Regions from separate parts of the Homo sapiens genome. Here all the other regions are linked to region 1. Evidence: promoter capture Hi-C in 16 types of primary human blood cells and fetal thymus (Javierre and others, 2016). All regions are on one chromosome and are shown on one strand. The core of a region is centred on a gene start or on the middle of the fragment in contact, and the rest is flanking DNA. Distances in the headings are between cores, read along the strand shown.

Region 1 (4,421 bases), core at 1,049-3,548:
GAGACAGAGTCTTGCTCTGTTGGCCAGGCTGGAGTGCAGTGGCATGATCTTGGCTCCATGAAACCTCCACCTGCCGGGTTCAAGTGATTCTCCTGCCTCAGCCTTCCAAACAGCTGGGATTACAGGCGTGCGCCATCACACCCGGCTAATTTTTGTATTTTTAGTAGAGACGGGGTTTCACCATGTTGGCCAGGCTGGTCTCAAACTCCTGACCTCAGGTGATCCACCCATCTCGGCCTCCCAAAGTGCTGGGATTACAGGCCTGAGGCATCACGCCCAGCCTTTGTTTTAACAGACAGGGTCTTGATCTGTTGCTTAGGTTGGAGTGTAATGGCACAATCATAGCTCATTGCATCTTTGAACTTTCGAGCATAAGTGATCCTCCTGCTTTGGCTTCCCCCAAGTAGCAGGAGCACATCACTACATCCCGCTAATTTTTAATTATTATTATTATTATTATTTTTGAGACGAAGTCTTGCTCTTGTCCCCCAGGCTGGAGTGCAATGGTGCGATCTCGGCTCACTGCAACCTCTGCCCCCTGAGTTCAAGTGATTCTCCTGCCTCAGCCTACCGAGTAGCTGGGATTACAGGCGCCTGCCACCACACCTGGCTAATTTTTGTATTTTTAGTAGAGACGGTTTCACCACGTTGGCCAGGTTGGTCTCGAACTCTTGACCTCAGGTGATCCACCAGCCTCAGCCTCCCAAAGTGCTGGGATTACAGGCGTGAGCCACCGCGCCGGGCCCTAATTTTTATTTTTGCAGAGATTGGCGGGGGTGGGGGGTGGTCTCGCTATGTTGCCCAAGCTGGTCTTGAACTCCTGGCCTCAAGCGATCCTCCTGCCTCAGCCTCCCGAAGTGCTGAGATTACAGGTGTAAGCCACTGTGCTCCACAAATTCTTATGTTCTTATAACTTACTTTGGGGAGCAATTGGCAACAGGTACTAAATAAAGCTAGTATTGGCTAGAGAATGACAATTGCAGAACTTTCTTTTTTTTTTTTTGAGAGAGTGTCTCACACTGTGGCCCAGGCTGGAGTGCAATGGTGCGATCTCTGCTCACTGCGACCTCCACCTCCCGGGTTCAAGCAATTCTCCTGCCTCAGATTCCCAAGTAGCTGGGATTACAGGTACCCACCACCATGCATGGCTAATTTTTTGTATTTTTAGTAGAGACGGGGTTTCGCCATGATCGCCAGGCTGTCTTGAACTCCTGACCTCAGGTGTTCAGCCCGCCTCAGCCTCCCAAAGTGCTGGGTTTATGGGCATAAGACACCGTGCCTGGCCGCAGCACTTTTTTGAACAAGGGGACAACCACCTGCCTCTCAGTAGGGAATAAAGTGTGGATTACAGTTTATTTTATACAATGGAATTCATAAGCTGTTAAGATGAATGAATTAGATGTATAGGGATCCAAAGATAATTCTCAAAAGCCATGTTGAGACTAGATACGGCGGCATCTACTCGGGAGGCTGAGGCAGGAGGACAGCCTGAGCCCCAGGAATTCGAGTCCAGCCTGGGCAGCATAAGCAGACTTCTATGGACAGCAAAAGAGGGACTGTATCCCGCACAATGCCCTGCCAACAGGCATTCTCTATCTATCTATCTAGTCTGATATTATATACATATTCTGATATATACTTAAGTTCCTAATTATTAGATTAATAATATACTTAAGTTCCTAAGTAATTACACTAATAATACATAAATTCTTGTAATTATATGTAATTAGTGATATTATATTCTAATCATAATATATATTAGACTAATACATATATTCTAGCATATATATATTAGACATATATATTCTGATATATACTTAAGTTCCTAATGTTTTTATATGTGTAATATATATTATATATATGTAACATTAGTCTAAGGAATTTGTGGAGGCTAACAGAAGAGAGGTGCTTGCTGAATACGAGAGCAGGCCACAGGAACAAGATCGGATGCAAGTGGGTGGGGGTGGAAAGATCGAAGAATCTGGCAGCCAGATCTCAAGAGCTGGCGGGGTTGGAGTGGTCTGTCCGGGAGAGGTCTGGAGGTTGCTGGGGCCGGAAGGGGTTAAAATTCGACTGGGAAGAGGGTGTTAGCACCGTACCTTTCTCATTGCGAACTGGGACGGCCCCAGCCGTAGACTGAATGGGCGGTTGCTTCATGAGAGCGCTTGGGACCGACATGTTGATGGCAGCGACGGTGATTCCCGAAACTTGACTAATTCCAAACAGTGAACACCAGCAACGTCAACGAAGAGAAGAAATTCCTTCCACCTGAGTCCGCGAACACAGCTGCGCGACTGATAGAGAAACTACTTACGGCTGAGCTAGATAAACCGGAAATACGTGACGAGAGGATTGTGGGATGGTGGACGACGTTTGGGCGCCCACAGCTAGGAAGTCGAGTCGGTTTCTGCGCATGCTCATTGGCTGCCCGCATGTCCTCTACGTCGCAGAATTTGGAAGCAGCTTTTGGCGGGAAATTTTGCTTCCTTTGGGCTTTGCTGTTAGGACTCTGCGGTGAGGAAGGTTCGAATGAAAGATTTTACGTGTTAGCTTGGTTTGAAGCCAAGAACGGTATAGTGAATAAGAAACTCAGGCGACAGTGAGTTACTGTTTGAATGGCTTGTTGAAAGCTCAGAAGAAGTAGAGTTTGATGGAATAAAAATCTTGCCAGTAGTATCCGATTAGCTTAGTTCATAAGGCCAGGGTGGGCTGTGGTGCGGTATTTGGTTTCACAGGGCAGGTGGTGCTGATTTAGGCCAGTGACCGAAAAAAAAAAAAAAAAAACTCCCGAGGTGCCTGGGACATTGCCCACCTGAAATCCCAAAACTCCACTTTTTTAGGCTTTCAGGTTTTTCCAGTTTCTGGAAACTACCTATTAAAATACATTCCTGGCTAGAAAATGTTTGTATTTAAATATCTAAGTAATTATTATTCTTTTGAGACTGTCTTTTTCTGTCACCCAGGCTGGAGTGCAGTGGCTCGATCTCAGCTCACTGCAGTCTCCACCTCCCGGGTTTAAGCAATTCTCGTGCCTCAGCCTTCTGATTAGCTGGGATTACAGGCGCCTGCCACCACTCCCTGCTGATTTTTGTATTTTTAGTAGAGACGAGGTTTCACCATGTTGGCCAGGCTTAAGTGATCCGCCCACTCCGGCCTCCCACAGTGCTGAGTGTTGGCGTGGGCCACCACTCCCGGCTAATTTTTGTATTTTTAGTAGAGGCAGGGTTTCGCCATGTTGCCCAGGCTGGTCTTGAACTCCTGACCTCAGATGATCCACCTACCTCGGCCTCCCCAAAGTGCTGGGATTACAGAGGTGAGCCACCGCACCCGGCCTATTTAAGAACTCTTTAAGGACTTACAGGATAATAACAGAAGCAGCTCCAATTTACAAGCTGAGTCGTGTTAAAAAATATATATAATATTGGCTAATTGGAAAGTCAGGACACATTTCACAGTAGAAAGGACTTTATAACTGCGGGGGAGACAAGGGACAGTAGGAACAAAGTCTTAAAGTCCAGAAACAGTATGTTTTATACAGGACACCATGAAAAGTTTGGTTTTATCAGTAATTTTTGAGTCATGAGGGGCCTTGAAGTTGCTATTAATATGATTAACCCAAATTACTTCACCTGTGTTCTACAATTGGGCCTTGAGTGGGAGAAGAAATGAAACTGGACAAATCTCAGGCAAGGAACAGTGTGGGACCCAACTAAGCAACCAAGGAAACAGTTTTGGGCTAGAAGGAACCTTAAAGAGAATAGCCAGAATCTTATTTTATTATTTATAGAAGAGGGTCTTGCTCTGTCGCTCAGGCTGGAGTTCCGCGCAATCACGGCTCACTGTGGCCTCATCCTTCTAGGTTCAAGCCATTTTCCCACCCCTGCCTTCTGAGTAGCTGGGACTACAGACGTACAACACCACGCTGGGCTAATTTTTGTATTTTTTATAGAGATGGGGTCTCACTATGTTGCCCAGGCTGGTTTGGAACTCCTGGGCCCAAGTGATCCACTCCTCTCGGCCTCTCAAAGTGTTGGGATTACAGGCGTTAGCCACCGCTCCCGGCCTGTTAGTGTTTTTCAAAGCGACATCCCAGTACCACCAGAATCAAAATCACCAGTCAAAGGTAAAAATGTCAGTTCAGCCCCAGGACATCCCTAAAGAATTTGAGTCTAGGGCTTTAAGACAGCATTTTTTTTTTTTTGAGACGGAGTCTCACTCTTGTTGCCCAGACTGGAGTGCAATGGCGCGATCTCAGCTCACTGCAACCTCTGCCCCCTGGGTTCAAGCAATTCTGCCTCAGCCTCCTGAGTAACTGGGATTACAGGCACGCGCCACCAAGCCCGGCTAATTTTTGTAATTTTAGTAGAGACGGGGTTTCGTCATGTTGGCCAGGCTGGTCTCAAACTCCTGACCTCAGGTGA
Region 2 (4,421 bases), core at 1,102-3,601, 450 kb after region 1:
TTCCTTTATCAAACATGATATATGTCAGCCACAGTGCTAAATGGTGGAAAGATAAGGACATAGTCCTTATCTTTAGGGATCTCACAATCTATAACAAGGTGACATATGTATAAACTAAATAGCAGTAATACACTTATAGTAAGTGTAATACCAAACATGTAAATTAGGTGTAGTAGAGGCACAAAGATGAAATTGTTTTGTAAGAGACATTCAAATAGTATCTTAAAAGACTTAGGAGAATGCAAAGGGAGTGCATTCTAGCAAAGAGAAACAGAGTGTTCCAAGGCATGGAGGCATGAAATAGCACAGTATGTACTGAGTGTGGTCTAGCTACATATCATTTGAAATAACTTACCTGGCTATGGAAATTAACAGATTTGCTTTAAAATATCCGTAGTTTGTTTGTTTGTTTGGTTGGTTTTTTTGAGACAGGGTCTTGCTCTGTCGCCCGGGCTGGAGAGCAGTGGTGTAATCACAACTCACTGCAGCCTTGACCTCCTGGGCTCAAGCGATCCTCCCACCTCAGCCTCCTGAGTACGTGGGACTACGGGCACATGACACCATGCCTGGCTAATTAAAAAAAAAAAATTTTTTTTTCTTTTTTTGAGACAGAGTATTTTGCTCGTCAGCCAGGCTGGAGTGCAACAGTGCAATCTCAGCTCACTGCAACCTCCACCTCCTGGGTTCAAGCAATTCTCCTGCCTCAGCCTCCAGAGTAGCTGGGATTATAGGCGCCTGCCACCACGCCCAGCTAATTTTTTTTTGTATTTTGAGATGGGGTTTCACCATGTTGTTCAGGCTGGTCTTGAACTCCTGACCTCAGGTGATCCACCCGCCTTGGCCTCCCAAAGTTGTTTTTTGTTTTTGTTTTTGTTTTTGAGATGGAGTCTTGTTCTGTCACCAGGCTGGAGTGCAGTTGCGCCATCTCAGCTCACTGCAACCTCTGCCTCCGGGGTTCAAGAGATTCCCCTTCCTCAGTCTCCCAAGTAGCTGGGATTACAGGCACGCACCACTACGCCTGGCTAATTTTTTGTATTTTAGTAGAGATGGTGTTTCACCATGTTGGCCAAGACGGTCTCGATCTCCTGAACTTGTGATCCTCCCGCCTTGGACTCCCAAAGTGCTAGGATTACAGGCATGAGCCACCATGCCCGGCCAAAAAAAAAATTTTTTTTAATAGAGATGGGGTCTCACTGTGTTGCCCAGGCTAGTCTTGAACTCCTGGCCTCAAATGATCCTCCCGCCTCAACCTCCCAAAGTGTTGGCATTACAGGCATGAACCACTGTGCCCAGTTAAATATCAGTAATTTGTTTTATTTTCATTTTTTGAGACATGGTCTCACTCCCATCGCCAAAGCTGGAGTACAGTGGTGTGATCATGGCTCACTGCAGCCTCATCCTCTTGCTCAAATGATCCTCCCACCTCAGCCTCCCAAGTAGCTGGGACCATAGGCATGGGCCACCATGTCCAGCAAATTTTTGTATATTTTGTAGAGATGGGTTTTACTATGTTGCTCAGGCTGGTCTCCTGGGTTCAAGCAATCTGCCTGCTTTGGAGTAATTTTTAATATGGATTTAAAATAATCCCATCAATACTCAGATGCCAAAAGAAAGCATTGTGCACACCAATATGTTAATAAGGATCAGTATTTCAAAGTTACTACATCGTCCTGCTACAAAATATGATGTTTTGCAATCGCTGCCTTCTGTTCTGGCCTTGGATGCAATGGGCTGCTTCTCTGGGATACCGACAAATCAAAACATAGCACCTGAACAGGAGCATGAAGTGAGCTCAATCCTTAATGGTGTTTACTTGATAGATATCAGGAATTGCACTACTGAAAACAACACAAACAGCATGCTGAAACTAACAGATTCAGTGAAAAACTATGTAGGTTAAAAAAGCTTCTACTTAAAGCTCAGACAATGGATACACACGAGGATCTGCTTAAAAAGCAGTAGATGACACATGACCAGCTCTGCTCACAGCTGTGTCTTCTGCCTGAAAGTCAGCACAGGAGGATTTATTGTGATGGCACACTAGCATCTGCAGCAGGTGCTGAGGAATGAAAAAAAAAAAAACTACATAAATAAAGGTTCGGAAAATTACAAGGTGGTCATCTGAAACTAGCCCCACATAAAGTCCCACTGCATCAAATGGGGCCATATTTAATTGGGTCACTCTTCAGAACAATATCTAGCAGAGAAAGCCACCATGAGCTAGAAGATTAGATGAACTGCAGGGCAGAGAACAAAAAATAGGGCAGAAACCTTGGGTTTTCTGCCAAGTGTAGAAAAAATACATTGCAGCAGACTGTGCAGAGGCATGACCATCTTTTCATTGCTTGCCAAAAATCTAAGTATGGTTTTTAAAAATTACAATGGAAATAGAAGCAAATGTTAAGGAACAAGAACCACTATATTTTGAAAAGATAGGTGAGAAGTGATGACTAATCAGTCAAAAAATATTTGAATCCCTACTATGTGCCCATTAATTCACTCAGTACATATCTGCTTAATATCATTAACTGCCAGCAGAGAAAATAAAAGTGAAAAATCTGTGCTTTCCAGAGTTTACAGCTAACTGGAGAGTCAAGTCAAACCAATGTGAAAGACTTGAGTAGCAGTGCAAGGCAGTATTATACTCTGATTATTGCCAAAATGATGCAGACAATAAATGTAGATAATATACGCAATGATGTAGACAATAATTGCAAAATTCAGATGAAAAATATGTGAGCTGAGCTGGAATTTGGAAGAAGCTCTCAGAGGGTGAGGATTTATGCTGGATCTTGAAGAAAGCTTGTATTCTCATCCTATGTCTGCCTTTGACTGGTAGAATAGAATAATTTTTTTTTTTGAGACCGAGTCTTGCTCTGTCACCAGGCTGGAGTGCAGTGGCACAATCTCAGCTCACTGCAACCTCTGCCTCCTGGGTTCAAGCGATTCTCCTGCTTCAGGCTCCTGAGTAGCTGGGACTACAGGCGCGCACCACCATGCCCAGCTAATTTTTGTATTTTTAGTAGAGACAGGGTTTCACCATGTTGGCCAGGATGGTCTCGATATCTTGACCTCCTGATCCACCTGCCTCAGCCTCCCAAAGTGCTGGGATTACAGGCGTGAGCCACCACGCCTGGCCAAATAGAATAATTTTAAATCGCAATACTTCTCTGGATTTTTATCTTCATCTATTAAATAGGAGTTTTAGACTAGGTAATCTCTAAATTCCCTTCCTGTTCTAAAATTCCATAATTCAAGGATATAAAGAAAAAAAGAATGAAATGAATAAGAGAGTATTTTAAAAATGTTTTAGGCTGGGCACGATGGCTCACGCCTGTAAATCCCAATGCTTTGGGAGGCCGAGGCGGGAGGACTGCTTGAGCCCAGGAGTTTGAGACCAGCCTGGGCAACACAGAAAGACACCGTCTCTACAAAAAATTTAAAAATTAGCCAGGTGTGGTTGTGTGTGTCTGTAGTCCCCACCTACTTGGGAGGCTGAAGCAGGAGTATTGCTTGAGCCAGGGAGGTCGAGGTTGCCGTGAGCCATGATTGTGTCACTGATCTCCAGCCTGGGTGACAGAGTGAGACACTGTCTCAAAAAAAAAGTTTCAGATAAATGGAAAAGAAAGAAGTGAGCAGGCATTGGAGAAGGGGAAAAAAAAGCCTAATGGTGTGGTGTCAAAACAAAATCACAGCCTACCTCATACTATCTTATAATGTGGTCCTGCAGAAAAACATCTACCAGCTGGGTGTGGTGGCTCACGCCTGTAATTCCAAAACTTTGGGAGGCCAAGGCGGGTGGATCACGATGTTGGGAGATCAAGACCATCATGGCCAACATGGTGAAACCCCGTCTCTACTAAAAATACAAAAAATTAGTTGGGCATGGTGGTGCGCATCTGTAGTCCCAGCTACTCAGGAGGCTAAGGCAGGAGAATTGCTTGAACCCAGGAGGCAGAGGTTGCAGTGAGCCGAGATTGTGCCACTGCACTCCAGCCTGGGCAACAGAGCAAGACTCCATCTCAAAAAAAAAAAATCTACCAAAAGTCTACTGTAGAGTCAGCAAAATAAACTGCTACAATAGAAAACTAGAGGACATCATGCAGGCACAGTAAGATAGTGGTCACTTCCATCACTTGGGAGCAGCAGGGCATGGGAGCTGTTGAAAAATGTTCTCAAGGAGGAAACTGAATACAGTGTTCCCCTGGTTGGGCACTGGTAAAGGAGGAAGAGACTGGAAGCTTCAGGAGGACCTTTCTATTTCTGCTGTATCCTCCGCACTTCCTCTCACCTACAACACTATAGATTGTCACATGGCAGGCACACAGTAAATATTTGAGTAATTAATTAATTTGTTAATTACTTAATGCATGCACCATGATATAAATCCTTGAACAAAGTAGGCTTCCAATAACAATGCC
Region 3 (4,421 bases), core at 794-3,293, 400 kb after region 1:
TCCTCACCCCAGACCAATTATATTAGACTCTCTGGGGGTGGGTCTCGGCAATAGGCATCTTTTAAAAGCTTCTCAAATGATTCCAAAGTGCAACTAAGATTGAGAATTACTGCCAGTTAAATTATTGCCTGACCTAAAAAACATCTCCTTTACAGAGCCTAAAATTCCACTACAAAATCATTGTCACTGGGGTTAATGACTGTCCTTTCTCAACTGTAAATATGCGTAAAGATTAAATTAACCAAATGCTTTGATTCAAATTAGCTTAGTAAGAGCACTTGCTTCCTAACGCCTAGCTAAGTTGAGCCTTTTGAAGAGGTTGAAAGTTTAAACAGAGTTAGAAATGGCCGAGTGTGGTGGCTCATACCTGTAATTCCAGCACTTTAGGAGGCCAAGGTGGGCGAATCACTTGAGGTCAGGAGTTTGAGACAAGCCTGGCCAACATGGTGAAACCCTGTATCTACCAAAAATACAAAAAAATTAGCCAGATCTGGTGATGTGCACCTGTAGTCCCAGCTACTGAGGAGTCTGAGGAAGGAGAATTGCTTGAACCTGGGAGATGGAGGTTGCAGAAGGCCGAGGTCGTGCCATTACACTCCAGCCTGGGCAACAAGAGCAAAATTCTGCCTCAAAAACAAAAAACAGAGTTAGAAAAAAAGACACCTCATTTTGGAGTACACTGTGTCATGAAATACTTTCAGAGAAATAAGTTCTGAATAGACTGCAAAAAGGAAAGCAACAAGCAATTAGAAACCATCATGTGGACACCAGGAATGTGAATACAGAAGAGGATGAACCTGAACACAAAGGGGCAGGAAGGTGAACCAAAGACTAATTGCAACTACTTCAAGTTTGTCTAAAAATGTTCCTTAGTCCAATTCATAATGTAAACATTCCTAATAATATCAAGTCTTTAAGGTTGTATGGAGAAGGCGTCTAGATATGTAGAGTATCTTAGTATTTTTTCTATGTATTATTTAATTGATTAAACATTTACTGTACTTACTTGTTATTTTATGTAACATATTTAATCCTTACAGCCTCATGAAGTAAACAGTATTATCTCCATTTTATAGATAAGAAAACCGAGTAGGTTTGAAGGAAATGGGATCAACTTTGCTTTGTCACACTGAAAAGAAACTTAATCATGTCTCTATTTGGTATCTGAAAGAAGAGGTGTGTGTGTGTGTGTGTGTGTGTGTGTGTGTGTGCACGCATGTGTATCTCACAGCTGTCCTGAATAATTATGCTTCATAACTAGCTATTTTCCTTAAATATCTGCTCATCTGTTCTTTCCTTTTCTTTTTTGAGATGGAGTTTCACTCTTGTTGCTCAGGCTGGAGTGCAATGGCACGATCTTGGCTCACTGCAACCTCCGTCTCCTGGGTTCAAGCGATTCTCCTGCCTCAGCCTCCTGAGTAGCTGGGACTACAAGCATGCGCCACTATGCCCGGCTAATTTTTTATATTTTTTTAGTAGAGACAGGGTTTCACCATGTTGGCCAGGCTAGTCTCGAAATCCTGGCCTCAAGTGATCCACCTACCTCGGCCCCCCAAAGTGCTGAGATTACAGGCATGAGCCATTGCACCCGGCCATGGCCTGTTTTCTTTAATCGTGCTTATTCATACCCACACACACTTCCCATTTTGATGATAAATGGCTATCTTGAAAATTTTAAAAATTACTAAGCATAAAAGTAATCTGACACAAGATTACCAAATATTACACCTAGACAGATTTTCTAACCTCACAAAAAATTAAAAGCATAACCTGTTGTTTTATGAAGTAAGGTAAGGGAGAGATTTTATTTGCATACATTGAAACATTAGCAACCAAAGCAGGAGGCAACTAATGAGAAAGAATGAGCTTCCTTTCTTGAACTGAAAGGAATGTCATTTCCACCAGTACTTAACAAGTGACGTTTATAGAGAAGTTTCCTGTAAAATGAGACTGGCAGTAGTTTTAGTTACAGTGTTTTCTTCCTGATACAGGATCTTCAGGGACCACTAGAGAAGAAATTATTATTTGCTCTGGACTTAGTGAAACCTGGAATCACAGACCTGAGGTCACTTGGAGAAGAATGCCCAGGTATTTAAAAGTGTTTGTTCCCCCTGCTACTCAGGAGGCTGGGGCAGGAGAATCGCTTGAACCTGGGAGGCGAAGGTTGCAGTGAGCTGAGATCACGCCGCTGCACTCCAGCCTGGGTGACAGAGCGAGACTCTGTCTCAAAAAAAGAAAAGTGTTTGATCCATGGCCGGGCAGGGTGGCTCACACCTGTAATCCCAGAACTTTGGGAGGCTGAGGTGGGTGGATAACCTGAGATCAGGAGTTTGAGACCGGCCTGCCCAAGATGGCAAAACTCTGTCTCTACTAAAAATACAAAAATTAGGCCAGGCGCAGTGGCTCACACCTGTAATCCCAGCACTTTGGGAGGCTGAGGTGGGCAGATCACCTGAGGTCAGGAGTTCGAAACCAGCCAGGTCAACATGGAGAAACCCTACTGAAAAAATACAAAATTAGCTGGGCATGGTAGCACATGCCTCTAATCCCAGCTACTAGGGATGGTGAGGCAGGAGAATCTCTTGAACCTGGGAGGCGGAGGTTGCGGTGAGCCAGGATGGCGCCATTGTACTACAGCCTGGGCAAAAGAGGGAAACTCTGTCTCAAAAAAAAAAAAAAAAAAGTAGCCAGGCATGGTGGCATGTGCCTGTAATCCCAGCTACTCGGGAGGCTGAGGCAGGAGAATCGCTTGAATCTGGGAGGCGGAGTTTGCAGTGAGCTGAGATCACACCACTGCATTCCAGCCTGGGTGACAGAACGAGTCTCCATCTCAAAAAAAAAAATAAAAGTGTTTGTTCCTGATGACTGTAGTGTCTTGGAGTTTATACTTATGAGCCAATTAATTTACTTCAGTTCAAAAAACATTTATTAATGACACTGGAAACAAACACTTGTACTCGACCTTGTAGGGGATGCAAATATCTAAGGGTCTAAGTTACCACAGTCTCTTGCCTGAATAATTGCAAACAACAAATAAAACCACCTCCCACCAAAATAAACAAATAACAAACTCTTGTGTCTCAGATACATTCATATTACAGCAAACATGTGCTTTTATTTTTTTATTTTTATTTTTTTGAGACAGAGTCTCACGCTGTCGCCCAGGCTGGAGTTCAGTGGCACCATCTCAGCTCACTGCAACCTTTGCCTCCCGGGTTCAAGTGATTCTCCTGCCTATTCTGTTGGCCAGGATGGTCTCTATCTCTTGATCTGTGATCCACCCACCTCGGCCTCCAAAAGTGCTGGGATTACAGACTGGAGCCCCGCGCCAAGCCAACATGTGCTTTTACAAACATAATTCTGACCTCCTCATTTCCCTTATTAAAACCTCCAATTACTTCCTACTGCCCCTAGGATAAAATCATAAATTCTTAGGACAGCGTGATTCAGCTGCTGTCTGCTTCTACAGGCTCACATGGTGCCACTTTCCTCCTCATTTATTAAATTCCCACAACCTTGACTTTTTTCAGTACTAAGAACATGTCATTATTTCTAAAGTCTTAGCTTTCTTAGATACTGTTCCTGTCCTGTTTCTGTCCTCTTTCAGTTCCCTTCCCATTTTCATCTTTTTGGTTCCTACTTTTTTTTATTGTTTATTTGTTTGTTTGTGTGTTTGTTTTTGACACAGGGTCTTGCTCTGTAGCCCAGGTGGGAGTGCAGTGGTGCAATGATGGCTCACTGCAGCCTCCATCTTCCAGGCTCAAGCAATCCTTCCACCTCAACCTTCCTGGTAGCTGGGACTATAGGCATACACCACCATGCCCAACTAATTTTTTATTATTTTTTAGTTTTTTTAGTAAAGACAAGGTTTTGCTATGTTGCCCAGTCTGTTCTCGAACTCCTGAGCTCAGGTAATTCTCCCACCCCAGCCTCCCAAAATGCTGGGATTACAGGCATGAGCCAAAGCACCAGGCTGGTACTATCCTTTAAATCTCAGTTTAAGTGTTACTTTTTCCAGGAAGCTTTCCCCAACTACTCAGACTAAATTATGTTCCCTTCTAATATGCTCCTATTAAAACTTACCTTTCTGTCATCATATTCAACACACTTGTAATTATTCGTTAATGTCTGGCTTTCCTTGTTGACTAGAAGCTTCATGAGAGTGTTTAACACAGTGACTAACCCCATTCATTATCGAATGACTAAAATTAGTGAAAAATTTGGTCACTGCTCTTAGGAGCCCAAGTCCAGTAGAGCAAACATATTTACAAATCACTCTTAATTTGAATACAAGATAAACCAAGTGTAGTAGTGACACAACACATGCAATGAAAATAATAGGAAAATAAGAGAGAGAGGCATTAACCCTCAATAAGGAGATGTAAAATAGCACTACTTCAGCTGGGCCACGAAGGATGGGA

The links. The method cuts DNA at HindIII sites, captures the fragments that hold promoters and counts their contacts. A CHiCAGO score of 5 or more calls a contact.
Region 2: a contact is called between a fragment that was not itself captured here and the fragment with the promoter of MFAP1 in region 1, in 1 of 17 cell types (endothelial precursors). The highest score is 5.5, in endothelial precursors.
Region 3: a fragment that was not itself captured here is called in contact with the fragment with the promoter of MFAP1 in region 1 in 1 of 17 cell types (endothelial precursors); the score reaches 5.7 in endothelial precursors.

The regions. Positions count from the first base shown.
Region 1 is chr15:43,822,392-43,826,812 of GRCh38, forward strand. It overlaps MFAP1 (microfibril associated protein 1), which reads right to left and starts at 2,299. Exons shown (of 9, transcript NM_005926.3): 1 at 2,100-2,299. The coding sequence starts at 2,178. RefSeq lists enhancers at 2,103-2,362, 2,115-2,746. The HindIII fragment of the contact is 28,469 bases long and covers 1-4,421 here.
Region 2 is chr15:44,273,356-44,277,776 of GRCh38, forward strand. No RefSeq gene overlaps it. Among named protein-coding and RNA genes, the nearest start is that of GOLM2, 13 kb to the right of the region's middle. The HindIII fragment of the contact is 897 bases long and covers 1,904-2,800 here.
Region 3 is chr15:44,220,759-44,225,179 of GRCh38, forward strand. No RefSeq gene overlaps it. Among named protein-coding and RNA genes, the nearest start is that of FRMD5, 28 kb to the left of the region's middle. The HindIII fragment of the contact is 3,954 bases long and covers 67-4,020 here.